4 separate regions of the Homo sapiens genome follow, and regions 2, 3 and 4 are each linked to region 1. The links are contacts of gene promoters, found by promoter capture Hi-C in blood cells and fetal thymus (Javierre and others, 2016). All regions are on one chromosome and are shown on one strand. Each heading gives the region's core, a stretch centred on a gene start or on the middle of the fragment in contact. The rest is flanking DNA. Distances are from core to core; before and after follow the strand shown.

Evidence for each region. The method cuts DNA at HindIII sites, captures the fragments that hold promoters and counts their contacts. A CHiCAGO score of 5 or more calls a contact.
Region 2: a contact is called between the fragment with the promoter of LCN10 here and the fragment with the promoter of CLIC3 in region 1, in 2 of 17 cell types (endothelial precursors and M0 macrophages). The highest score is 5.9, in endothelial precursors.
Region 3: a contact is called between the fragment with the promoter of RNF208 here and the fragment with the promoter of CLIC3 in region 1, in 1 of 17 cell types (M0 macrophages). The highest score is 5.8, in M0 macrophages.
Region 4: the fragment with the promoter of PHPT1 here is called in contact with the fragment with the promoter of CLIC3 in region 1 in 7 of 17 cell types (M0 macrophages, endothelial precursors, total CD4 T cells and 4 more); the score reaches 7.7 in M0 macrophages.

Annotation. Positions count from the first base shown.
Region 1 is chr9:136,994,131-137,000,780 of GRCh38, forward strand. CLIC3 (chloride intracellular channel 3) reads right to left here and starts at 2,438. Exons shown (of 6, transcript NM_004669.3): 1 at 2,381-2,438; 2 at 1,518-1,627; 3 at 1,312-1,437; 4 at 1,056-1,162; 5 at 800-975; 6 at 478-709. The coding sequence starts at 2,413. The coding sequence ends at 551. RefSeq lists an enhancer at 6,036-6,155. The HindIII fragment of the contact is 14,896 bases long and covers 1-6,650 here.
Region 2 is chr9:136,741,083-136,745,303 of GRCh38, forward strand. It overlaps LCN10 (lipocalin 10), which reads right to left and starts at 1,858. Exons shown (of 6, transcript NM_001001712.3): 1 at 1,705-1,858; 2 at 799-938; 3 at 170-279. The coding sequence starts at 1,821. It overlaps LCN6 (lipocalin 6), which reads right to left. Exons shown (of 7, transcript NM_198946.3): 4 at 4,088-4,198; 5 at 3,558-3,659; 6 at 3,257-3,282; 7 at 2,935-3,060. The coding sequence ends at 3,580. RefSeq lists a silencer at 1,263-1,362. The HindIII fragment of the contact is 7,084 bases long and covers 1-4,221 here.
Region 3 is chr9:137,219,438-137,226,087 of GRCh38, forward strand. It overlaps RNF208 (ring finger protein 208), which reads right to left and starts at 2,803. Exons shown (of 2, transcript NM_031297.7): 1 at 2,552-2,803; 2 at 822-2,301. The coding sequence starts at 1,775. The coding sequence ends at 990. It overlaps CYSRT1 (cysteine rich tail 1), which reads left to right and starts at 5,737. Exons shown (of 2, transcript NM_199001.5): 1 at 5,737-5,796; 2 at 6,177-6,650. The coding sequence starts at 6,185. The coding sequence ends at 6,619. RefSeq lists silencers at 2,356-2,405, 3,346-3,395, 3,706-4,055. The HindIII fragment of the contact is 9,789 bases long and covers 795-6,650 here.
Region 4 is chr9:136,845,285-136,851,934 of GRCh38, forward strand. PHPT1 (phosphohistidine phosphatase 1) reads left to right here and starts at 4,125. Exons shown (of 3, transcript NM_014172.6): 1 at 4,125-4,306; 2 at 4,729-4,853; 3 at 5,471-5,740. The coding sequence starts at 4,147. The coding sequence ends at 5,563. AJM1 (apical junction component 1 homolog) reads left to right here. Exons shown (of 3, transcript NM_001080482.5): 3 at 1-3,517. The coding sequence ends at 2,061. RefSeq lists silencers at 3,067-3,296, 3,517-3,576, 3,657-3,736, 3,917-3,976, 4,367-4,446 and 1 more and an enhancer at 4,097-4,376. The HindIII fragment of the contact is 15,345 bases long and covers 1-6,650 here.

The DNA.
Region 1 (6,650 bases), core at 1,188-3,687:
GCACTCTCAGACCGTCCAGCTATTCCAGCCCTGCCAGCCCAGGAGCTGAGAGGGGCCCAGCCAGGCAGGGCCAGGGCTCCCCAAGGCTTAGAACTTTGTTCCCACCCTCCCAGGCCGCACCCAGGTAGGGCACGGAGCCCCGTGGGAGGATGCAGACAGAAGTCCCGTGTAGACCCTGAGACACTGGAAGTGCCCTGCGGGGAGGGGAGCGCCTGCCCCGGGACAGGATTGAGGAATGTGCCAGCCCCCATCCACCTGGGGCACCCCGCCCCACCCCGGCCTGACTGGTTTGGGAGCCCAGTCCGGTCCTGGAGATCCCTGAGGCCACCGGTTGCAGGAGGCCTGGAGTCTGCGCCTTCTTAGCGTGGAGGATGGGACCGGCCCGACCCCCGGCGCTCCTGCCCCTGTGGTTCTGGGCTATCGGGCTGAGCGTCCCACCCTGGGGTTTGGGGATGGGAAGTGATCCCGAGACCTCTGGCCCTTCAGATGTCAGGACACCCTCACTCCCGACAAAGATGCCTTTATTGGGCGACAGACGCGGGGTGGGGCGCTAGCGGGGGTGCACGGCGGGCCGGTAGGCCGCCAGGATCTCGGCGCTGTGCGGACACGTGTATTTGAACTCTTTCTCCTGCATCGCGCTGTCCAGGTAGCGGCGTACGCCGCGCAGCTCCGCGGGGATGGGCGCCTGGCGGAAGTGCGCGCACACCGTCTGCGGGCAGGATCGCGGGGCGCGGTCAGGACCTGCCGTCCCCCAGGCGCGCCGCGGTCACCCTCCCGCCCGCCCACCTTCCGTGCTCACGTCGACGATGTGCAGCTTGGGCAGGAGGCTGCAGTCGGCCAGCGTGAGCCTGTCGCCGTCCAGGAAGCGGCGGCGGGACTCGCGCAGCTGCGGCTCCCCCGCCAGCTCGTGCTCCAGGGGCGCGCGCAGGTAGCTGTCCAGCCTGGCGAGGGCGCGCAGCAGCTGCTGGTACAGGGCTAGGGGGCAGGCGGCGCGGTGAGGACCAGGCCCAGGGCGCCCTCCCGCCTGGGCACCCGACCCCCTGACCCCGCTTCACCTTCGTCCTGCGCGGGCACCGGGTTCTTGATGAACGCGGAGAACTTGTGGAAAACGTCGTTGCCGGCGGTGTTGGACTCCCTGTAACGAGGCGCCAGGCTGGGGAAGCTGCGGGATGAGGGGGTGGGACTCCATTAGACTGGGGGCAGCCCCGTCCCGGCCCCACAGTACCCCCACAGCGCCTTCCTGGGCTCTGTCTTGCGCGCGTCCTCCCTGGGCCCCCCTCTTTTCCCCTCCCACCCTGCCGGGGCTCTCACTCGGGCGGCCCCAGCGTCTCCTCCAGAAAGTCCTCGATCTGCAGCGTGTCTGTCTTGGCGTCGCTGTCATAGAGCAGGATGGGCAGCTGCGAGCCGGGGGCGAAGTCCTTCAGCACGTCCGGGGACCTGCGGGCAGCAGCGGGGTGGGAGGAGGCCGGCCCACCAGTGTGCGAGGCCAGGCGGGGGTCCACAGGATGGGGCCTCACCTGCGCGTGTCCACCGTGGTGAGGGTGAAAGGTACGCCCTTGAGGAGCAGGACCATGAAGAGCCGCTGGCAGGAGGGGCAGTGACCCACGCTCTCCCCGTCCTCACTCGCCTGGGTGGGTGGAGCGGGGGTGGGGGGTCAGGGCTGGAAGCAGACCCAGGCATCCTGCCGCCAGGCTGGGCGGGACCCGCCTCCCACTGCCAGTGGGATTGGAGGGACGCCAGGGCTCCAGCTTGGTCGGCGCGACTTCCAAGTGCCCAGTGAGGGCCCTTGACTTGGTCCCCAGAACGTGGGGAGGGGGGCAGAGCTGCTGGGAGCCTTGAGGCCTGGGGCAGGCTTGGCCCCTGGAATCTTGTCAGAGCCTGGACAGAGGCCAGGCCCCTGGGCTCAGTCCCCAAAAGCTGGTTGCAGGGGTGGGGTGGGCCTCACAAGCTGTTTTCTGAGTGATTCACACATGAGACTGGGCACTGTGGCCAACAGCACATCAGTCCCCCACCCCAGTCCCCGACCTGAGAGCTGATGGGGCTGCCTGGCCCAGCACCCCCCATCCTGGAACACCGACCGTAAGCTCCACTGTTGGCAGCCTGCTTGGTACCTCCCCACCAAGGAGCTCTCCTCCAGAAGACTGGGCTGGGCCCAGGAGCCAAGGCTGGGAGCAGGACCAGGGCCACTGACCCCTCTCTGGGTGACTCGCTGGGTCCCACTTTACTCAGCCTCTGTAGGGCTGCCTGAGTCCCCCTAGCCACCCACAGGAAGGGGCTCAGACATTACTGGGAGGCCCACCCCACAGCCTGCCACAGAAAGCAAAGCCCAGAAAAGCGCTTCCTCCCAGACACCCTCCCCGCAGCTGAGTCCGCCCTGCACCTTGACAAACAGCTGGAGCTTGGTCTCCGCCATGGTGGGAGCTGCCGCGGTCAGGCGCGGGTGGGGACCTGGGGAGCTCTTTAAGTCTCCCTGTGCGCCCCGCCCTCCCTGGCCGAGGGGCCCGCCCCGTGGAGCCACCTAGGCGGGCAGATGAAGCTGCCCAGCGCGCAGAACCAGCTGCCTGAGCAACGCCAGCCCGGCCCCGGGGTGTCTGAGCCTGAGGGTGTGACCTCAGGGTGGCGGAATGGTGTGGGGGGCTGCCCTGGACTTGAGTCTGGTGTGCACGGAGATCCGCCCACCCGGTACTGAGTGTGCTGGGAGCCAGCGTGGTGGGTGGAGACCAGGGGGCAGGGCATAGGGAGAGCCTACAGGCCAGAAGGGTGCAGGGGGTGTCACCTGGGAAGGGGGCGGCTCTGGGTCAGGACCACCTCCACCGTGAACCCAGCTCAGACCCTGCCCTATGGCTCTCCCTTCCGCAAATACCCCTTGTCAGGGCTCCCAGCCCAGAAAGCCAGTGGGTGTGGGTGAGCAGGAGAAATGGCCTGCCCAGCCTGGCTTCAGTTCCCCATCTGCAGCACCAGGGCATCGGGAGGGTGATAAGCCCACCTGGGGGAGCCGCCCCTTCCCAGCTACGGAGCAGTCAGGCAGGGCCCTCCCCGCTCAGGGCAGGGCTCAAATTCCAGACCTGCCCGCAACAGGGCGGGGAGGCCAGCCTGGCTTTGGTGTTTGGCCGGCAGTGCAGGTCTCCACCCCACCTCCCATCCCTCCCACTGGCGCTCAGCGCAGGTTTCTTACCCCCAACCCCTTAACCTTTAAAAAGAAGCAGCAGGAGAGGGGTTAGAAGCCACAGCCTGCGTGGCTGGAAGAAAGAGGCCAGGGGAGGGTGGTGGTCCACAGGTGTGAGCCTGCGCTGAGCCTCCTGGCGTGATTGGAACCCACAGTTCAGTCTGGCCCTTTGGGGTCGCCAACTGTGCCTTCCTCCCACCTGGCCCTGACGCTTTAGGGTGCAGCCCCAGGGAGGTACACCGAGGGGAGATTCCACCCAGAGACCTGGGGTGCCCACAGGATTGGCCTGGCCACACCTCCCCCAGGCGGTGTGGTGCCTCACCAGCCTGGACAGGGCAGCTGAGGTGGCACTGCTCTCCTGCTCACCTTCTCCCCAGGGCCTTGGTACGGGCCCCTCATCCGTCCCCGGTGGAACACACTCCAGTGCTGCCCCAGTCAGCCCAGCCTGATGCTTCTCTGGATACCACGCCAGTCGGGGCTCCTGGACACAGAGCCTTGGAAATACCATGTGGCTGCCCCATCCTTTGGTGTCCTGAACCTCAATTTCCCTCCATCCGGCCTCCACCTCGATTCCAAGCCCTAGTATTTCAGCTCTTTCTGGACACTGTGGTTATAGCTCCGCTTGCTGGTTTCCCACATCCCTGGCAGGCAAATGGCCAACCACAGAGAAGCCCCAGGCCCCCAGCCCCCTCTGCTGCCCCGGCATCCTGTGTCTTTAACACCGACAGACGCACCCTCACAAACCCACAGGAAAAATGACGGCACGGACAGAGGCCGTGAACCGGTGGCTCAGAAGGAAAAAGAAAACAAGACACAGGAAGACCATTCACCTCACGCCCGTCTCAAGAAACAAACCAACAAGACTCGGTTCACCGCTGCAGCGGCCCCACTGCGTTCTGTGGGCGTGGGCTGTGGACTGTGGAGCGGCAGTGGCCATCCAACACCCCCCTGTGCCCTCGCCACCTGGGAATCAGCCCGGTGGCTTCCTTTTTTTTTTATGGTTTAATCAATTCATTTATTTACTAGAAACAGGGTCCTGCCATGTTGCCCAGGCTGGTCTCCACCTCATGGGCTCAAGTGACCCACCTGCCTTGGTCTCCCACAGTGCTGGAACTACAGGCGCGAGCTGCCACACCCGGCCGGTTTCCCTGTGAAGGGCAAGTGAGTGCTGGCTGCCCCACTGCGTGGCGTGGCGTGGCGTGGCGTGGCTCCGTGGCACGGCCACCACCCTGTCTATGGGAGACTCCAGTTGTGTCCAGGGAGAAGGACGGAAAAGGTGACTCCATGCATGCCCACTGCAGGGAGGGCCTGAGATTAGGTAAATGGCGTGGCTTGTGTCCCCTTAAATTTAAATTCTTAGGCTGGAGTCCTAACCCCTAGTGCCTCAGAATGTGACCTTATATGGGCCGGGCACGGTGACTCATGCCTGTAATCCCAGCAGTCTGGGAGGCCGAGGGGGGTGGATCACCTGAGGTCAGGAGTTTGAGACCAGCCTGACCAACATGGTGAAACCCCGTCTCTACTAAAAATACAAAAATTAGCCAGGCATAGTGGCAGGCACCTGTAATCCCAGCTACTCGGGAAGCTGAGGCAGGAGAAGTGCTTGAACCCGGGAGACAGAGTTGCAGTGAGCAGAGATAGTGCCACTGCATTCCAGCCTGGGCAACAGAGCAAGACTCCATCTTGGAAAAAAAATAAAGAATGTGACCTTATGTGGAAACAGGGGCTTTTTAACATTTTTTTTGAGACAGAGTCTTGCTCTGTTGCCCAGGCTGGAATGCAGTGGTGCAATCTCGGCTCACTGCAACTTCTGCCTCCTGGGTTCAAGCAATTCTACTTTCTCAGCCTCTGGAGTAGCTGGGATTACAGGTACACGTCACCACGCTGAGCTTTTTTTTTTTTTCCTTGTATTTGTAGTAGAGACAGGGTTTCACCATGTTGATCAGGCTGGTCTCGAACTCCTGACCTCAGAAGATCTACCCACCTTGGCCTCCCAAAATGCTGGGAATACAGGTGTGAGCCACCGCACCCGGCTGAAATAGGGTCTTTATAGAAGTTATCAAGTTAAAATGTGGTGAGTAGGATGTGCCCTGATCCAATATGACTGATGTCAGTATAGAAAGGCGAGTTTGGACACAGATGCACAGGGAGGGCCGCAGGCAGAAATCAGGGTGGCACATCTGTAAGCCTGGGAGCCAAGCGGATGCTCTCCAAGGCCCTTGGGAGGAAGCAGCCCTGCCCAAGCCTAGGTGCTATGTCTGACCTCCAGACTGCTAGGCAGTGAGCTTCTGTTTTTTTTGTTTTTTTTTTTTAATGAGATGCAGTCTTGCTCTGTCGCCCAGGCTGGAGTGCAGTGGCACAATCTCGGCTCACTGCAAGTTCTGCCTCCCCAGGTTCACGCCATTCTCCTGTCTCAGCCTCCCAAGTAGCTGGGACTACAGGCGCCCGCTACCACACCTGGCTAATTTTTGTATTTTTAGTAGAGACGGGGTTTCACTGCGTTAGCCAGGATGGTCTCGATCTCCTGACCTCGTGATCCGCTCGCCTCGGCCTCCCAAAGTGCTGGGATTACAGGCGTGAGCTCCCGCGCCCCGCGGTGTTGTTGTTTTAAGATGGAGTCTCACTGTCACCCAGGCTGGAGTGCAATGGCTCAATCTCGGCTCATTGCAACCCGCGCCTCACCGGCTGAAGCGATTCTCCTGCCCCAGCCTCCCGAGTAGCTGGGATTACAGGCGCCCACCACCACGCCTGGCTAATTTTTGTATTTTTAGTAGAGACGGGGTTTCACCATGTTGGTCAGGCTGGTCTCAAACTCCTGACCTCAAGTGATCCGCCCACCTCGGCCTCCCAAAGTCAGTTTCTGTTGTTTTAAACCCCTCACTTTGTGGTCCTTTGCATGGCAGCGCCAGCAAGCTAATAAGTAAAGCAGGGAGAAGCCAGGAAATGGAAGAAAATCAGCATTAGGATCTGTCATTCTGAGTCTCTACTTGAACAGAGCTGAAAAAAGACGCAAGGAGCTGTCTGTGGGATGACCCCTGACAGGCAGAAACAGGCTTTCAGTTTTGCTTCCTGTCTGTCCACACTGTTTGCATTTTCTACCACATTTTTGTAATACCACATTTTCTACCACAATTTCATAATGTTTTGAAGTAAGAACAGTATCACAGCCACTAACCTTAACTAGACCCTGGTCCCCGAGGCCACGGGGTTATCCCTAAACCTCCCGTCCCCTGCAGCCCCTGCTCCTGATTCATAGAGCCAGCGTTAGAGGGGCCCAAGCTGAGGTCCCGAGGCTGCTGCTCTGGGACTGACTGACTGGTGGGTTAGAACTCTCTCCCTCCCCAACACCCCTCCCTGTAGGCCCCTTCCAAGGGGCTCTTTTTTTTTTTTTTTTTTTTTTTTTTTGAGACAGGGTTTCACTCTGTCACCCAGGCTGGAGTGCAATGGCGCAGTCATAGCTCACTGCAGCCTCCACCTCCTGGGC
Region 2 (4,221 bases), core at 608-3,107, 250 kb before region 1:
GCCTCCCCTCCCGGGCCAGGCCGCCCAGCACATGACGTGTGGGCTCTGGGAACACAGCCAGCCTGACGCCTGCCTGCCACGTGCTCTCGGGGACAAGGGGCCTGCTCAAGGCACAGGGGGGTCAGAGGCATATCACGCAGCTCCTCCAGGGCCCAGAGCCCAAGCACACCTCCCTCCTGTCCTTCCCTCGGGCCCGCCGCGTATGCACAGGCGTTCCCAAACACCGGCTTCTTCCCGTCTTTCCTCAGGATCACCTCCTGGGACTGGCACCCCTTCAACCTGGGGCCAAGGCGGGGGCTCAGGCTGCAGACCAGGGAACCCCTCCTCCCGCCTGCCAGCCACCGAGCCCCACCCACACGTCTCGGTCCCGCCCCTGCTCCCGTGGGACCCGGGAAGGTTGGGGCCCCAGGTCCCCAGTTTTTTGCTTCACTATCCAACTCGTGTCAATCTGAGGCTCTGTGGTTTGAGGATTTTCCAATTCGGACTGGGGCCTGTCCCACGGCACGAGAGAAACTCCCAACACCCACCCGTGTGGGGCCCAGGAGCTGCAAGCGGCTTCCTCCCAACACCTACCCATGTGGGGTCCCAAGGTCTGCAGGCAGCTTCCTCCCAACACCCACCCATGTGGGGTCCCAGGGGCTGCAGGTGGCTTCCTCTGAGTTTAGGGGGAGGAAGTGGGGGGACGGTTCTTGTGGAACTTCCAGACAGACAGGCTCCTCCCAGACTCCTTTCCAGCCCCGAGGCAGCTCCCTCCTCCTGGAAGGGGAGACCCTTGCCTGGGGGGCGCTGCCCACTCACCGTCTGAAGGCGAGGAGCACGCGGAGCTGGCCCACTTTGTTCACCTTTACCACGGACGCCCCCAGCTTCCTCTTGTCCCTGGCCGGCAAGAATCCCTGGGCATCAGTGGCAGTGGCCAGAATGTACCAGAACCCTGAAAACTGCGCAGCGGATGTGTGGGCGGGGACAGGAGCTGCCACCGGGGGCTGTCCCCACCCCCGAGGTTCCCAGCTAGAGAACCCAGGAGACAAATGACCCTTCTGTGAGCCGGAGTCCCAGCTCCGCCCAGGTGCCGCCTCGGTCCCGGCCACTCAAGCCCTGGCCACTGGAGCAGGGCTGCAGAGAAGCAGGTGCCCGGCTGGTCAGGGACCCCAGGCAGCAAAGGGCTGGGCTGTGGGCGCCAGCAGGTGGGAGGCCCCCTACCTCAGAGGCCCCGGCTCCTTCCCACATGGCCTCCTGGGGGCTGGGTACTGCTCGGCCACTTCCCTTCCTGCCGGCCCCCGGCCCCCAACTCTGCCTGCTGCCAACCCTAGCGCCCTGGGCACCGCCGTGCCAATGAGTGCTGCTCCCACGGCTCACTCAGCAGGTGCCCGGGCCCTCCCGCTACAGAATATGCCCCGCTTGCTCCACACCCACTCTGCACTCTGGGCGTCTCCCGACCTCCTCGGCCACAGCTCTCTGGGCCCCTCCACCCTGGCCCTCCCTGACCCCCCTGGGCCCCCGAACCCCCTCGAGGCTCCCTGCCTTTGCCCTGCAACTTGCGGGGCCCCTGTGCTGGAGGCTGCAGTGGGAGAGGCCAGGTGGGCAGCGCCCGTGCCTGGAACTGCTGGTAGCCCTGCTCCTGGGCGGCTGCCGGGAGACTGTGCAGGAGCCTGCTCCAGCTCCAGAGCCGGCGCCCGGCTCAGGGACCAGTGGCACATGGCTCACCTTGTTCCAGTTGAGGGCGTGGGACTCCCTGGGGTACCACTCCTGCACCTGGGACCCTGCAGCCAGCACTAGCACCAGCACCAGCACCAGCGCCAGCACCAGCAGCCCCTGCCTCATCTTCACCCTCCTCCCTCAGCCGCCAAGGCCAGTGTTTAAACCTCTCTGGAGCCGCCAGCCTGTGTCGGGAGAGGAGGGAGGGGAGGGAGCGGAGGGAGGCAACAGGTGTGGCCTTGGGCTCTGCTACCCTCTCCCCGCCCAGGGACCACCCCCAGACACTCCAGGGAAGCCGGCACTGCCCCACCTGGTGGTCACTGCTGGCCTGGGCTGCCCTGGCAGACAGAGGCCCCTCTGAGGCCCCAGGACCCTCCTGCCCTCAGTGCCCGGCCTGGGGTCACTGTGTGTGCCCCTGAGACTCATTAAGCCCTGGCCCTCATCCTAGACCTCCCAGGTGACAGGCAAAGGGCTGGTCGTGGCCCTTCTGGGGCAGATGTGGACATGGTGAGCTCTGCGCGGCAGCCACACACACAGCCCCCACCACCTTCTTGAGGGCCTGGCACCAAGCACCTGAGCAGGTGCCGAAGGGCGGGCCGGGGCTGTGTGCCCGTGCCCATGAATGTGTGTGTGTGCATGTGTGGGTGTGTGCTCACATGTGCATGCGTGTGCATGCCCAGCCTTGCAGGTCAAGGCATCTGTGTGCACCTCGCCTCACTCCAGCATGAGCCTCACACAGTCCCCAGCCCCCCATCCAGCCCCGAGACCCCCATGGCCTGTGCTTCTCCCAGGACGGCAGGCAGCGCAGCCCCCCACACCCATCAGAACACAGGAGGACCTGCAGGCTCAGGTGTCTGGGGTCCCTGCCCCTGCCCAGGCAAGAGACACAACCCCAGCCCAGAGAAGCCTGAGCCTGGGGAGTCAGGGGCTGCTCTGAGCCCCACCAGCCACCTCTCTCTTGTCCTGGGCAGTCCTTGGAGCCTCTGGCACCCCAGCTGCGGTCCTGGTGGAGCTCACTGCTGGCTTCCTCCCAGGCTGTGTCCTCTGACCAGCCCCCGCCTCTGAGCCCGGGCCTGAGTTTGGGTGTCTGAAGACCCAGAGGGGCTCTGGCAAGGGACTGGGTTGGGCACGCGTCTTCTTTGCAGCTGGCTCTATGGTTCTGTGGCTTGGCCCTTGGTGACGACCCCCGCCATCCTCCCCGCAATTCCCCGGCTGGCCCCCAGTCAAAAGCATCCTTGGTTTGCTGTGGAATCGCTTTATTCTGAGCTGGTGCTGGGCCCCGGGAGCCGCTGAGCGAGGTGGGTGGACACTGGCCGAGGTCACAGGACCCTGTGGGCGCCATCCCTACTGGGGACGCAGCACTCACTGAAAACCAAGAGGAGTGTGAGGGGGCCCAGCCCACCATGGAGGCTCCTCCACACCCTCAGCTGCCTTAGAGACAGTGGAGCCATGAACCCCGTGGGCTTGGGCAGAGGGTCCTCCCACCCACTGTGCGTAGGGTGGCCTCCCCCACCCCCTTCCCCCAAGAGAGCCCAGGGTGAGGCTCAGGATGGCGGCTTACCAGAAGGATCTTGTGAGCACAGGTGACTAGAAGGGGAGGCAAGACTGGCTGTGAAAAAGGACTGAGCCCCCCAGCACCCCAGGGCCCCACCCACAAGACTCGCCTGCCGTGGGGACAAGACCCCCAGGCCTGACTTTGGGCAGGGGCAGGTGAAGACCCCCTCAGCCTGCCTGACTCCTTCAGGGCGACTGAGTCAGGCAGAAGCCAGAATCAACCCCAGGGTCTCTGTCACCCCATCACGCCCTGTGGGCTCCAGAACTTGCCCCAAGCCTCCCCCGAGGCTGCTCCGGTGGACACTCACGGTCCTTCTGCAGCTGGGCCTGCTACTGTGACAGGAAGCCCAGGCTCCTGCTCCACTTGGTGAAGAGCCCCATGGCCTCCTGGCTGGCTGTCTCCGTCAGACCTGGGGGCACCAGGGCAGTGCAGGGGGAAGCAACCTCTGAGAGCTGGGGAGGGGCCGGGGAGGGGCTGGGAAGGGTCAGGAAGGAGGCCACCTGCCCTGGGATGCTGGCCCCGGTCCTTCCAAAGCCACCTCCAGTGCAGCGAGCCTCAAGGTGGGGGAACTTGGCCTGCATGTGGTCCTGTGCGGCCCACCCACCACACAGCTCCCCACATGGCCCCCGAGCGGCCCACTCACCACACAGCTCCCCATGTGGCCCCAAGCGGCCCACTCACCACACAGCTCCCCACATGGCCCCCGAGCGGCCCACTCACCACACAGCTCCCCACGCGGCCCCCAAGCGGCCCACGCACCACACAGCTCCCAACGTGGGCCCCGAGTGGCCCACGCACCACACAGCTCCCTACGTGGGCCCCGCACAGCACACTTACTGTACAGCTCCACGGTGTTGAAGGGCTCGTCCCCGAACTCCAGCTGAGTGAAGATGATGGCATAGTCTCTGAAGTTGGTGGCCAGCACCCAGAGCTCCAGCACGCCTATTGCTAGGAAACAAAACCCCCCGCCT
Region 3 (6,650 bases), core at 1,553-4,052, 230 kb after region 1:
AGACAGAGCGTCACTTAGTCACTCAGGCTAGAGTGCAGTGGCACGATCTCTGCTCACTGCAACCTCCACCTCCCGAGTTCAAGCAATTCTTTTGCCTCACCCTCCTGAATAGCTGGGATTACAGACATGCACCACCACACCTGGATAATTTTTTTTGTATTTTTAGTAGAGAAGAGGTTTCACCACGTTGGCCAGCCTGGTTTTGAACTCCTGACCTCAGGTGATCCATCCGCCTTGGCCTCCCAAAGTGCTGGGATTACAGGCGTGAGACACCGCACCCAGCCTGGGGCGGGCTCTTCCTCCCACCCAAGTGGTCCAGGTGCCAGACAGGAGGCGCTGGGTCCTTATTCCCCTACCACCATTTCAGCCAGTCTTTGTCCCTAACTCCTGCACATGCCCAAAGGCTACTCCCACACAACCCTGGAAGACCCAGGTGGGTGCTCAGGTCCAGATGGGCACCAGGAGGGAAATCAACTGAGTTGTCCCCCACACAGGCACCCCCACACCATTGAAAATGTCCTCTCTGCCCAGCTGGGGTGTCTCTGCACACCCACCAGGTAGTCCTGCCAGGCGCACACAAGCAGCCCACTCTGTACGTGTGGGGGTTTGCACCGACACAGCCCACCCGGCCCTCCTGAGCTGCATGCACAGCCCAGCCTGGCCCCCAGTGCGCAGGGCAGGCCCAACCCGAGCAGCGCTGGGCCTCTCTCTGGCAGCTCCAAGCTGGGCCCTCTCTGGGTTGCAGCCCTGGGTGCCCACCCTAGGCCCAGGCCTGAGCACAGCCCACAGGAGCAAGCTTCAGTCCAGGAACAGGTGCAAACTTTGGCAAAGAGTTTTAATGGCAAAGTTGGCTGCAGCGACAATGCCACTCGGGGTGGGGCCGGAAGCCATGGTGGGGAAGGAAGGGTCAGCGGGCGGCAGGGCAGGGCCGGGTCCCTGAAGAAGCAGCGAGCGAGGCTCAGCGGGCAGTGGCGGGCAGGCAGGCGCTACTACATGATGGAGCAGGCGGACAGTGGGTTCCGCACGTGGCAGGTGCACGCGGCCCCACAGTACTGCCGGAAGGTCTGGTAGCAGCTGCCCTCGGGCTCAGCCCCCCACTGACCCCCGGATGGGGCCGTCAGCGCCTCAGGCGGCAGGCGGCTCAGGATGGACGTGTTGACAGCCAGCGCGGCCAGGCCGTAGTCGGTGAAGAGCACAGTCTCACGGCGGCAGGTGGGGCAGGAGATGAACTTGTACTTGGGGCAGGACTCGTAGAGAATCTGCAGGCACTGCTCACACACAGAGTGCAGGCAGGACAGCACGCGGGGCCTCCGCTGGGTGACATTGTAGGAGTGCCCACAGGTGGGGCACTCCAGGGGCTCGCCTGCCGCCGCCGAAGAAGCCGCCGAGGCCGAGGGGCCAGGCCGAATCACGTACTGATTCACAATGACCTCATCCTCTGGGGCCACGCGGGGAAAGCCCAGCTCCGAGCTTCCCTTACGGGGCCGCCGTGGCAGTGGCGGGGTATGGGGTGCCCCTTCCAAGGCAGGCATGTCCCCCCCACAGGCCTGGTTGACAATGATCTCTGTGTCTGAGGGCCAGGCACGCTTGGGTGCCAGAGTTGGGGTGGGCCGGGGAGCAGGCGGGAAGCAGGGGGCAGCCGGTAGCTCAGGGAACTTTTCAGGGTGGACAATCTTCATGGCCTCCATCTTGAGGATGACATGGGGACCCTTCAGGCAGGACATGAGGAGGCCCGGCCAGCCACTGCCCGCCTCGGGCCCGGGGTCAGAGGGCATCCGGCTGTCTCCAGTCAGACTGGATGTTCGGGTGGGTGGGGGCGTTGTGTGGGGCTGGGGGGCAGGTGACAGGGCAGCATCCTGGTCCCGCCAGGCCTGGGGGGGGCCCCGGACGGCCCGTGGACTCCTAGGGACAGCCGGCGAGAGTTGGGGGTGCAGGGCCCCCCCCAGTGGCCACAGTGGCTTCTCTGGTCCAGTCCTGGGAGGAGGAGGAAGGGGTGGGGGAGGGGGAGGCAGGCGGGGGCAGGGAGGGGTGGGAGGCTGCCCTGGGCTGGGGGTCTGGCCCAGGGTCTCACCCAGGGTCTCTGGCTGCTGAGGCTGGCGAGGGGGCGCGGGGGGGGCTCCCCCTGCAGCCGAGGTCAGCAGGCCGCGGGCCGGGACATCGGGGCAGGCAGGGGCTGGGTGGGCCCCATGGCTCCAGGACAGGGCGCCCAGGGAAGGCAGCTAGCCGAAGCGCTGGCTGCAGGAGGACCGGGGCGGCAGGCTCCGCGGCAGGAGCAGAGGCGAGGCCTGGGCCAGGCCTGAGCTGCAGGTGAGAGACGGCATGAGGGCAGTGCCCCGGCCACCCCCACCCTAGCCCTCGCCCTGCACAAAGGACCGGGCGCCCGACCTCTGACCCTGACCTCAGCCGTGGGATCCCGACCTCCGCGGGCCTCAGAACCCAACCCCCTCCCCGGTCCCCGCCTCCAAGGCCAGACGCACCTTCCCGAGGGCCGACCCCCGTCGCGTGGGGAGGGGCGCTGAGTCCGCCCCCGGCCCCCGCCCCCTGCGCTCACCTGCCCCAGCCTGGCGTCCCGGCCGCGCGCCGCCGCCGCAGAGGTTGTCTCAAAGGCAGGCCCGGACGCGGCGCCCGCGCCTCGGCCCGGCAGCTCGGGGGGCTCCGGCGGCTCCGGCGGCGGCCGCAGCGACCTCAGGCGATGGCGGGGCCCGGGCGGCACCGAGGGGCGCGGGCGCGGGCGTGGGGCGCGGGGCGCGGGTTTCGGCACGGCGGCGACGGCGGCAGGTGCGTGCGGAGCGTGGCGCGCTCTGCGGCGGAGGCGCGGGGACCGCAGTGCGCGCGGCGCCCGCCCGCGCCCGCAGCGCCACCCCCCGTCTGGGGACCCGCGCGGGGTCCGCGGGGCGGGGCCAGCCTCCCGGCCGCCCCTCGGTCCGCTCCCGGCGTCGCTCTCGCCCGCGGACTGCGTGGGGGGCAGGACCCCCGCGTCGCCCCCAGTTCTCTCCAGGCTGATCCTGGGTCCTGGTCAAGCCCCCGCCCCCCCAGATTCAGGAGGAGAATCCGGCTGTTCTCCTCCCTCACAGTAGGAGGCCTCAGGACTCTGGAGTGAGAGGGAGGGGACCTGCGCGGAGGATCCCAGGGGAGCTGGTTCCAGGGCCCACCGGTGCCTTCCCCCGTCCCCGGCCCCCCGCCCCATGGGAAGGCCCCGAGTCCTCCAGCTCCGCCTGTGCCCGGTGCCGTAGCTCAGATAGATCGCTGTGACTCTAAGGGGCAAGAGCGGGGCGGGCGGAGCGGATCAGAAGGCCGAGGCCGGTGGACGGACGGGTCCGGTGGGAGTGCGCGAAGGACAGGCTGGCAGCCCAGTGCGGGGTGGAGGCGGCCCTGAGGACCGCACCTGCCCGGACAGGGTGGCCCCTGGCACTCCAGCGCGCAGGCCCGGGCCTCTCCGCTTCCTCACCCGGGGCTTCCCTGCCCTCCTGGGTCCGCCTTCTGCCTGTGGAGCCCTCGGGCTTGCTGGTCACCGTGAGGCAGGGGACCAGGGCTTCGAGGGCCTCCGCTGCCACGCTGTGACCAGCTCTGGCCCCGCACCTGGCCCTGGACATCCTGGCCTCCTTCAGCTCCTCTCTCCGCTGGACTGGCCAGACCGCACCTGCTCTAGGCAGAGCCCCAGGGCCTGCAGAGTGCTGAGCCCAGAGGGGACGGTGCCGCTGGTGCGGGAGCTCGCGTGGGCAAAACAGGCTGGAGGAGCAGCCCTGCGCATAGGGTCTGGCTTGGCCCCTCTGTGGGGCCTCGGGCGAGTGTCACTCAGAAGAGCAATAGGGAGAGGTGTGCGGGTGACAGGGGCGCTGCTGGAGGGGTCCTTACGGGGCCCTGGCAAGATGGTGGGGCAACTGAGGCAGCCTGGGCCTGGGGAGGGCCGGGAGCCCAGCTCCGCCGCAGACTCTGCTCACCGACCCGGCGTGCGCCCGAGGAAGCACCAGGCCGCAGGCCCCGCCCCCTCAGCGAGACCCCACCCCGTAGGGGATGAGATCCCGCCCCCGCCACGAGGCCCCGCCCCCCAGGCCAGGCCTTTTCAGACCCGCCATTCAGAGCTGGAGAACCCCAAGCCGAGTATTGGTCACATCCGAACCGGGTCTTTCGGGAAACCCCGGAGCGCGTGGGCTTCTGGGCAATAATATTTCCACGGCCGGTTCCTGCCTTGTTTGCGCATGCGCCATAGGCGCCACTCAAGTGGCAGGCAGGGAGGTGGGCGGGACTTCCGGCGCCTGCGCAGTGGACTTCCGTCGCCGGCCTCTCAAGTTTTGGGTCCCCAGGAGCACCCAGTTCTCCCCAAATCGGGGCCGGGTTGCCTGAACTCATGTCCCGACCGGTCTGACTGGCCCTACACAGGCCACGTCTGACTGGAACCCGCCCTTCCTGGTGCTCCCCTGGGCCCCAAGGGCCCCACTGCCGTGGGTCGTCCCCGCGGCACTCGCCAGTGCCCGCTGCACCCCTGCCTGCGCCGGTGCAGATGGAGCCTGGGTTCGGCTGGAGGCGGGGGGCCCAAGGTGGGGACGCTGGGGGGGCGCGTGTGGCCCCCACGCCCGCCAGCCAGAGGGTAACTGCAGTTTGAGAAATGAGCTAAAAATGTCAGTAGTGTCTAAAGCCCGTGTCACTGATTGTAAGATAAGACCTGTGACAAAACGTGCAAATCAAACATTTTTTATCAGTGAAAAAAGCAGAAAAGCCACTGGGCACGCTGGCTCACGCCTGGAATCCAGCACTTTGGGAGGTGGAGGCAGGCGGATCACTTCAGTCCAGGAGTTTGAGATGAGCCTAGGCAACATAGTGAGACCTACATCTCTATAAAGAATTAGCCGGCGTGGTGGTGCACCTGTAGTCCTTCCAGCTACTCAAGAGGCTGAGGTGGGAGGATCACTAGAGCCCAGGAGGTTGAGGCCGCAGTGAGCCAGATCATGCCACTGCACCCCAGCCTGGATGGCAGAGTGAGACCCTGTCTCAAAAATCGGCCGGGCGCGGTGGCTCACGCCTGTAATCCCAGCATTTTGGGAGGCCAAGGCAGGCGGATCACCTGAGGTCAGGAGTTGGAGACCAGTCTGGCCAACATGGTGAAACCCTGTTTCTACTAAAAATACAAAAAATTAGCCAGGCGTGGTGGTGGTTGCCTGTAATCCCAGCTACTCGGGAGGCTGAAGCAGGAGAATCGCTTGAACCCGGGAGGCAGAGGTTGCAGTGAGCCGAGATCGCGCAGCTGCACTCCAGCCTGGGCAACAGAGCAAGACTCCATCTCAGAAAAGAAGCAGAAAGCCTCCAAGAGCCAATGGCTCTCAAGCATCTTGGTCTCTGCTAAGAAGAGGCTCAGAGGCTTAGAAGCCCTGCCTCGCCGGGGCTTTGAGGTGTGTGAGCAATGGCTGGGGACTGCAGGCCCGGGAATCTGAGGGCCTCACCCCACTTCCTTTCCAGAGCCGTGACCTCAGGCTCACCTCCTGCCCTCCTCTCAGGCAAGCTGCAGATGCCCTTTAGGGCCCAGGCCATGCCCCGGATGTGAGGGGCTGAGTCACTGGTTTGGCAGTGCCCCTCAGAGCCCAGGCCTGGGCTGCCACCCACCTGAGGACGAGGGCTGGGCCAGCTGTCGTGCTCCAGTTGCTGGGGCCTCTTGGGATCTTGGGAACCCCATCTCTGAGCCCCGCCCCATGGCCCCGCCCCTCCCAAGGAGGGAAAAGGCGGCTGCCAGTCGCTCAACTCAGGCACTGGGACCTAGAGCTCAGAAGACCGAGAGGACAGACTGCCGTGTTGCCACCACAGGTAAGCCCTTGGCCGCCGGGACTGCCCTGAACTCAGGGGCACTGCAGGGTCAGCCCCCTTCTCTCCCATCTCTCAGCCTCCCCGACCCCATTCCCAGCTCCATCCCAGGACCAATGCCACCAGGGGAGGGGGAGGATCCCTGGCAGGGGTGGCAGCTGGGAGACACCGGCCCTTGCTGCTTGCTCACACTTGGCTCACACCCATGACACTAGCCTTGCACACACATTTGGAGGTGATGGCACCCCGGCACTGATGCCTTGGGGATGCTGAGCTTGGACGAGGCACGCTGCTCCTGGTGGGGGCTTTCCTGGGCCGCAGGCTCGTGGGCAGCCATCCCACTCCACTGAGTTCATGTCTGTCTTCTCTGCCCACCCCTGCAGGCTGGACCATGGACCCCCAAGAGATGGTCGTCAAGAACCCATATGCCCACATCAGCATCCCCCGGGCTCACCTGCGGCCTGACCTGGGGCAGCAGTTAGAGGTGGCTTCCACCTGTTCCTCATCCTCGGAGATGCAGCCCCTGCCAGTGGGGCCCTGTGCCCCAGAGCCAACCCACCTCTTGCAGCCGACCGAGGTCCCAGGGCCCAAGGGCGCCAAGGGTAACCAGGGGGCTGCCCCCATCCAGAACCAGCAGGCCTGGCAGCAGCCTGGCAACCCCTACAGCAGCAGTCAGCGCCAGGCCGGACTGACCTACGCTGGCCCTCCGCCCGCGGGGCGCGGGGATGACATCGCCCACCACTGCTGCTGCTGCCCCTGCTGCCACTGCTGCCACTGCCCCCCCTTCTGCCGCTGCCACAGCTGCTGCTGCTGTGTCATCTCCTAGCCCAGCCCACCCTGCCAGGGCCAGGACCCAG
Region 4 (6,650 bases), core at 2,875-5,374, 150 kb before region 1:
CGGGGCAGCTTTGCAGCCAGTCCCGGCCCAACCTTCGACGCCTACTACCCCAGGCCCTATCCGTCCGAGGAGCTCTCGGGGCCCAGTCCAAGGCGCATGGGCGGCTACTACGCAGGAGAGGTGCGCACCTTCCCAATCCAGGAACCGCCCTCCCGCTCCTACTATGGGGAGGCTCCACGAGCCTACGGCCTGCCCTACGGGCCCCGCTATGTCCCCGAGGAGCCCCGGGCCCACTCCACCGCCCGCCCCTTTTACACGGAGGACTTCGGAAGGTACCGCGAGCGTGACGTCCTGGCTCGGACGTACCCGCACCCGCGCAGCAGCCCGGCCTGGGCGGACTGGGGCCCGCGACCGTACCGCACCCTGCAAGTGGTGCCGCCCTCTGACCCCGACCCGTTGCTCGCCTCCTGGCACGGCGGCACCGGCACCAGTCCGCCCCGGCTGGCCACCGACAGCCGCCACTACTCGCGCTCCTGGGACAACATTCTGGCCCCGGGGCCGCGCCGAGAAGACCCGTTGGGCCGCGGCCGCAGCTACGAGAACCTGCTGGGGCGCGAGGTGCGGGAGCCGCGAGGCGTGTCCCCCGAAGGCCGGCGCCCGCCCGTCGTCGTGAACCTGTCCACCTCTCCCAGACGCTACGCCGCACTGTCCCTGTCCGAGACGTCGCTGACGGAGAAGGGCCGCGCGGGCGAGGGCCTGGGCCGCAACTGGTACGTGACGCCCGAGATCACCATCACTGACAATGACCTGCGCGCCACCGAGCGCCCGAGCGCCAGGGCCTGGGAGTTGCCCGGGGGCCGCACGCGGCCACCTCCCCACGCGGCCCCCGACGGCCCCACCTCTGGCCGCCAGCGGAGCCTAGAGCAGCTGGACGAGCTCATCACGGACCTGGTCATCGACTCGCGACCCACCGCCGGCCAGGCCTCAGAGCCCGCGGCCGACTGCCTGGGCCCCCAACTGCGCCGACTGCTGGACTCGCGGCCCGCGGGCTCCGGGGCCCCCGCGCTGGCGCCGCCACGCTCGCCCCCCGCCTCGGCCGGCAGCGCCGAGGAGCCCGCGGCCCCGGGAGAGGCGGCCGACGCGTCCCCCGAACCCAGCGCCGACGAGGACGACCTGATGACCTGCTCCAATGCGCGCTGCCGGCGCACCGAGACCATGTTCAACGCCTGCCTCTACTTCAAGTCCTGCCACAGCTGCTACACCTACTACTGCTCGCGCCTGTGCCGCCGCGAGGACTGGGACGCCCACAAGGCGCGCTGCGTGTACGGCCGCGTGGGCAGCGTGTGCCGCCACGTACTGCAGTTTTGCCGCGACAGCGGCCCGGTGCACCGCGCTTTCTCGCGCATCGCGCGTGTCGGCTTCCTGTCGCGCGGCCGCGGCGTGCTCTTCCTGGGCTTCCCAAGTCCAGGCTCGGCCGACAACTTCCTGCGCTTTGGCCTGGAGGGGCTGCTGCTATCCCCCACCTACCTATCGCTGCGTGAGCTGGCCACACACGCGGCGCCCCTGGGCAGCTACGCGCGCGAGCTGGCGGCCGCTGGGCGCCTCTACGAACCGGCAGAGTGCTTCCTGCTCAGCGTGTCCGTGGCCGTGGGACCCGGCACCGCGCCACCGGGGACACCGGCCCTGCCCGCGCCCGCGCCACGCAGCCACGGGCCAACAGTGCGCAAGTTCGCCAAGGTAGCGCTGGCGGCCGGCAGCCCCGCGCGGCCGCCCCCGGCGCGGAGCCGCGAGCCCGACATGGAGACGCTGATCCTGACGCCACCGCCGGGCACGGCGGGCCTGGATCAGGACGGCGAGGCGGGCCGGCGCGCGCGCGAGGTGGCCTTCATCCACATCCAGCGCGAGCTGCGGCTGCGCGGCGTCTTCCTGCGCCACGAGTTCCCGCGCGTCTACGAGCAGCTTTGCGAGTTCGTCGAGGCCAACAGGCGCTTCACGCCCACCACCATCTACCCCACGGACCGGCGCACCGGCCGCCCCTTCATGTGCATGATCATGGCCGCCTCCGAGCCGCGCGCGCTCGACTGGGTGGCCAGCGCCAACCTGCTGGACGACATCATGTGAGGCGCCGGGCCCACCAGGCCTAGCCCAGGCGCTGGCCCGAACCCTGCCCTGCCCACTCAGGCCCCGCCCGGCCCACCCAGGGCCGCCCCCGAGCCCCGCCAGGGCCCCACCCCGACTTCTTCTAGGCCCCGCCTCTAATTCCCCAGCCTTCCAAGCTCCGCTCAGTTCGGCCTCCAGCTCCGCCCAGGCCCCCACCCCCCGGCCCTTCGTCCCCGTAGTGTTCCTCACAGGCCCTTCGCCTTCCCACCCCCAGCAACCCCTCTCCCTCCTCCGGGCCTCCTCCCTCTCCCAGCTCGCCCTCGAGGATCCCCAGAAGAAGTCGGTCCTCGCCCTCGGTGCTCCCCGCTGGGAGGCGGGGTGGGCCTGAGGACCGCCGAGCTCTGCCTTCACTCGGAGGGGTCACTACTGCACAGACCCCACCCGTAGAGATCCGGTCCCCGTCGGTCCGCGGGGCTCTCGCTGGAGCCTCCCCGACTCCGGTTTCCCCTCGTCCAGAAGCCCGACGTAACCAAAGCCCAGTCTGTCACTTTAAACACGCCCCGCCCCGCCTCCCGCGGCTGTGTTGCCTCCTCGCTGGAGAACACCCTGGTCGACCTCTGTGCGTCCGTGTGCGCGAGCGCGTCCCGCCGAGGCGGTGGGCAGGGCGGACGGTGCGCAGTGCGTTCCCGCTGGTCGGAGCCAGCACACTAACCACGCCACGCGCCCTGCCGTCCCTTCGCCTCCAGCCGCTGCAGTCTGGGCCCTGCAGGAGCTGGGAAAAACCGCAGGGAGGTCTTCAGGCCGATATGCAAGTCTCCCAGCCGAAGGGGCAGGGGACCTGAACAGGGGAAGCAGAGCACCTGGGCCTGGCCAGAGCTGACACCTGGCTAGGAGAGGAAGGACCAAGGGACGGGGCGTTCCCAGGTGGGAGCCTGGAGGGCAAAGCGTGGTGCGAGCAGGTGAGGGAGAGAGCTAGTTGGTAAGCGTGGAAGCCCACCCGAGGGGGCTTGACCTGTCCCGAGAGGTCCCCGCACACCCGCTCTGGCCGCACGCCGTACTGCGGGCGTGGAGGCGCAAGCCCGGCGGCCCGGCCTCCACCTGTCCCCCAAGTGCACCCTGGTCCGCGCCCAGAGCTCTCTGGAGGGTGGGGTATGCGGGAGAGGGGTGGAGGCCAAACGCAAGGGCCCTCCTGGAGTCCCCAGCCCTACTTCGGAGCCAGGGGAGGGGGCACCAAGTGAGAGAAATTGGGCACCCCCGCCTCCGCTCCTGCTTTCGCACCCGGCACGCCCATCTCGTCCCCGCGCGTCTGCACCGGCCAGGCGTCCCGCTTGCCCACCCGCCGCCGCGCCCCGCGCCCCCTACCCCAGGGCCTCTGCATTCGGCCCCACCCCTGAGGGCCGGCCGGGAACGCCCCTGGACCGGAATAATTTCCAGGGGGCAAGAGCTTTCGAACCAAGTAAAATAGAACTTGAATGTAGCGGCTGCCGTTGCCTCCTTGTACCGGTAGCGGGGTTGGGGACGGAAGCCTTCGGTCGGTGGAGAGGAGAAAGGGAGAGGCCTTCGGGCGGTGGACGGGGAAGAGAGGGAGTCCTTCGGGCGGTGGAGGGGGTGGAGAGCGAGGCCTTCGGGCGGTGGAGAGCGGGGAGGGGGGAGGCCTTCGGGCGGTGGGAGGGGGAGAGAGGGAGGCCTTTGGGCGGTGGGGGCCACGGGGAGGGTGGTCTTCGGACTACGTGCGGGACAGGAGGTCAGGGCTGGCAAGTCCCTCAGGCCTCCCTCGTTGCCCCAGCCTCGCGGGCCGCCTAACTGCCCCGTTCCAAGGGTGCCACCGGACCCCGCTGGAGAGGAACTTCTCCGTTGGCTGGATTTCATCACCACCCATTCCCGATTCCACGTTTCCTTTAAGCGGGGCTGGCGGAGCCGCAAGGCGGCAAGGAACTGGATTGCGATTGGTCAGCACGTGCCTCGGTCGGCGGTACAATTGGCTGAGGCGCTGGGCCTTGGGAAGCATTCCCCGACGGGATTGGTCGTCGCTCTCGCAGAGCCCGCCTCCCGCAGTACAAGCGGCCCCCGGGTCGGGTGGGAGGAGGGGACTCCGGGAGGAGGAACATGGCGGTGGCGGACCTCGCTCTCATTCCTGATGTGGACATCGACTCCGACGGCGTCTTCAAGTATGTGCTGATCCGAGTCCACTCGGCTCCCCGCTCCGGGGCTCCGGCTGCAGAGAGCAAGGAGATCGTGCGCGGCTACAAGTGGGCTGAGTACCATGGTGAGGGCGGGACCTGCGGGCATGCCAGGGGCACGCCTGGCGAGGCGGGGGCGGGGCTGGCGGGACGGAGACGGGGCTGACGAGGCAGGGGCGGGGCTGGCGGGGCGGGGGCGGGGCTGCGGGCCGTAGCGGACTGCGCTCTGCTCCGAGTCCTGCCCCTGCTAGGTTTGACCCAGGCTGAGGTCCTGGGCGGGAAGGGCGTGACACGGCCTGACACCCTCCCCAGCAGTCTCCCAGTTCCCGCGCCCTCCCCGGTTCCACCCTCCTTCGCTCATTCATCCCTGTCCCAGCCTCAAGGGGCTTCGTCTCTCCTGGGGAAGGGGCTGTTCAGAGCTGGGATTTCAGACCCCTTCGGCTGGGAGTTCCTCCCGCGGCCTCCAAGGGCGGCCAGGGCACGTCCTGAGGCCGCCCTCCCATCCCAGCGGACATCTACGACAAAGTGTCGGGCGACATGCAGAAGCAAGGCTGCGACTGTGAGTGTCTGGGCGGCGGGCGCATCTCCCACCAGAGTCAGGACAAGAAGATTCACGTGTACGGCTATTCCATGGTGAGCCGCAGCCCCGTCCCGCCCTGCCGGAGGCCCCAGTACCAGCTTCGAGGCCCACCTGAGCCTGCTGCCCTGACCCGTGGCCCCAGCTGAGCACGCAGGCTTCCTGGGGTTCTCCCAGGGTCGGCGGCAGAGCCCTCCCTCCAGGGCCCATTGTGTTCCTGCATTCCCCCATGGAGCACACGCCAGACCTGAGGGGTGGGACGGACACCCCCAGACATGGCCGGCTGTCTCCTCTCCCTGCCTTGGGAGGCCTTGCTGGGCTCTAGCTGTCCTCCAGCACTTTGGGCCCTGGGCCCCCAGAGGCAGTCAGTACCTGGGTGGAGCTCAGAGTCCCCACCTGTGCTCTTCACAAAAACCACCAGCAGATGAGACCCACGTGCGTCCCTCTGGGCGCCTCAGGCCCCAGGATCCACCATCAAGGTTTGCTTGCCTGTGGAGGTCGCCTCTCCCCAGGGGAGCCCCCAAGGGCGGTCGGGATGGTGGGTTTGGCATCCCCAGGCACTGCCTATCCCTTTCCCACACTCGCTTCTGGTGTGGCTGGTGGCTGGATGCCCAGAGCCGGGTATCGGGTTGAAGGGTCCAGGTAGTGCCAGCAGGCGTCTTCTCTTCTCCAGGCCTATGGTCCTGCCCAGCACGCCATTTCAACTGAGAAAATCAAAGCCAAGTACCCCGACTACGAGGTCACCTGGGCTAACGACGGCTACTGAGCACTCCCAGCCCGGGGCCTGCTGCCTCCAGCAGCCACTTCAGAGCCCCCGCCTTTGCCTGCACTCCTCTTGCAGGGCTGGCCCTGCCTGCTCCTGCGGCAGCCTCTGGTGACGTGCTGTCCACCAGGCCTTGGAGACAGGCTAGCCTGGCCACAGAATTAAACGTGTTGCCACACCTGCCGGCTTCTGAACTCTGTCCTTGGCTTCCTGCACCCTGCGTCACCACCTCCGGGGGCCCCCAGACCCTAACTAAAGCAGGTGGGTGGGGGAACACAGGAGTGGCCCCAGGGAGTGGCGGTGCACACTCAGCCCTTTGGGGTCTGATAAAGGGGCCCGCTGATGGCCTGACTGCTCTTCCCACGGCCATCGTCCTCCAGGGCATCTTGGAGGAGGTCTGGCAAGCCCTTGCGAGAGGAGTCAGGGCCTGGTCCCTCGGGCTGGCCAAGACCTGGGGCGCCCACCAGTGCTCCCTCCTATGAGCCCATCCCAGGGCTCCCCAGTGTCCTGTCTGCCCTGAGGCTCCTTCCGTGACCTGCAGGCTCCTTCCATGACCAGCCCCATGGGGCCTACCAGTATCCAGGGTCAGGTCGCACAGCTGCATCTACCCCACAGGCTCACGTTGACTCTGGAGGCCCCTCCCAGGTCCCTCTTGCACCCGGCAGGGCTGTGGGCAGGACACGGGTTCAGGCCTTGCCCTGGGAAGCCCCATACACAGTGGGACTCCATGGGGTGGTGCAGGGGCACCCTGGGGGCCAGGGCTGGTTGTACACAGGGCACCCCCACCTTTGTCAGCTCACTGGTCCTCCGGCCAGCCTCTCCAGACGGGCACTGTCATAACCACATTTTACAGACCGGGACACTGAGGCTCAGTGACACAAGCTCCGAGGTCACACCATGGGAAATCACAAACAGGGCCTGGCCCCAAATGCCACACTCCTTCCCCAGCCCCAAAGACCCTGCCCCAAGCATGAGTCTGCTCCATGAGAAACCGAAGTTTCTGGGCTCCTAGGGACCCTGTATCTGGCACCGGACAGCACCTGGCTGCTCAGGACGAATGAATGACGGCGTGATCCTCCACAGCCTGACT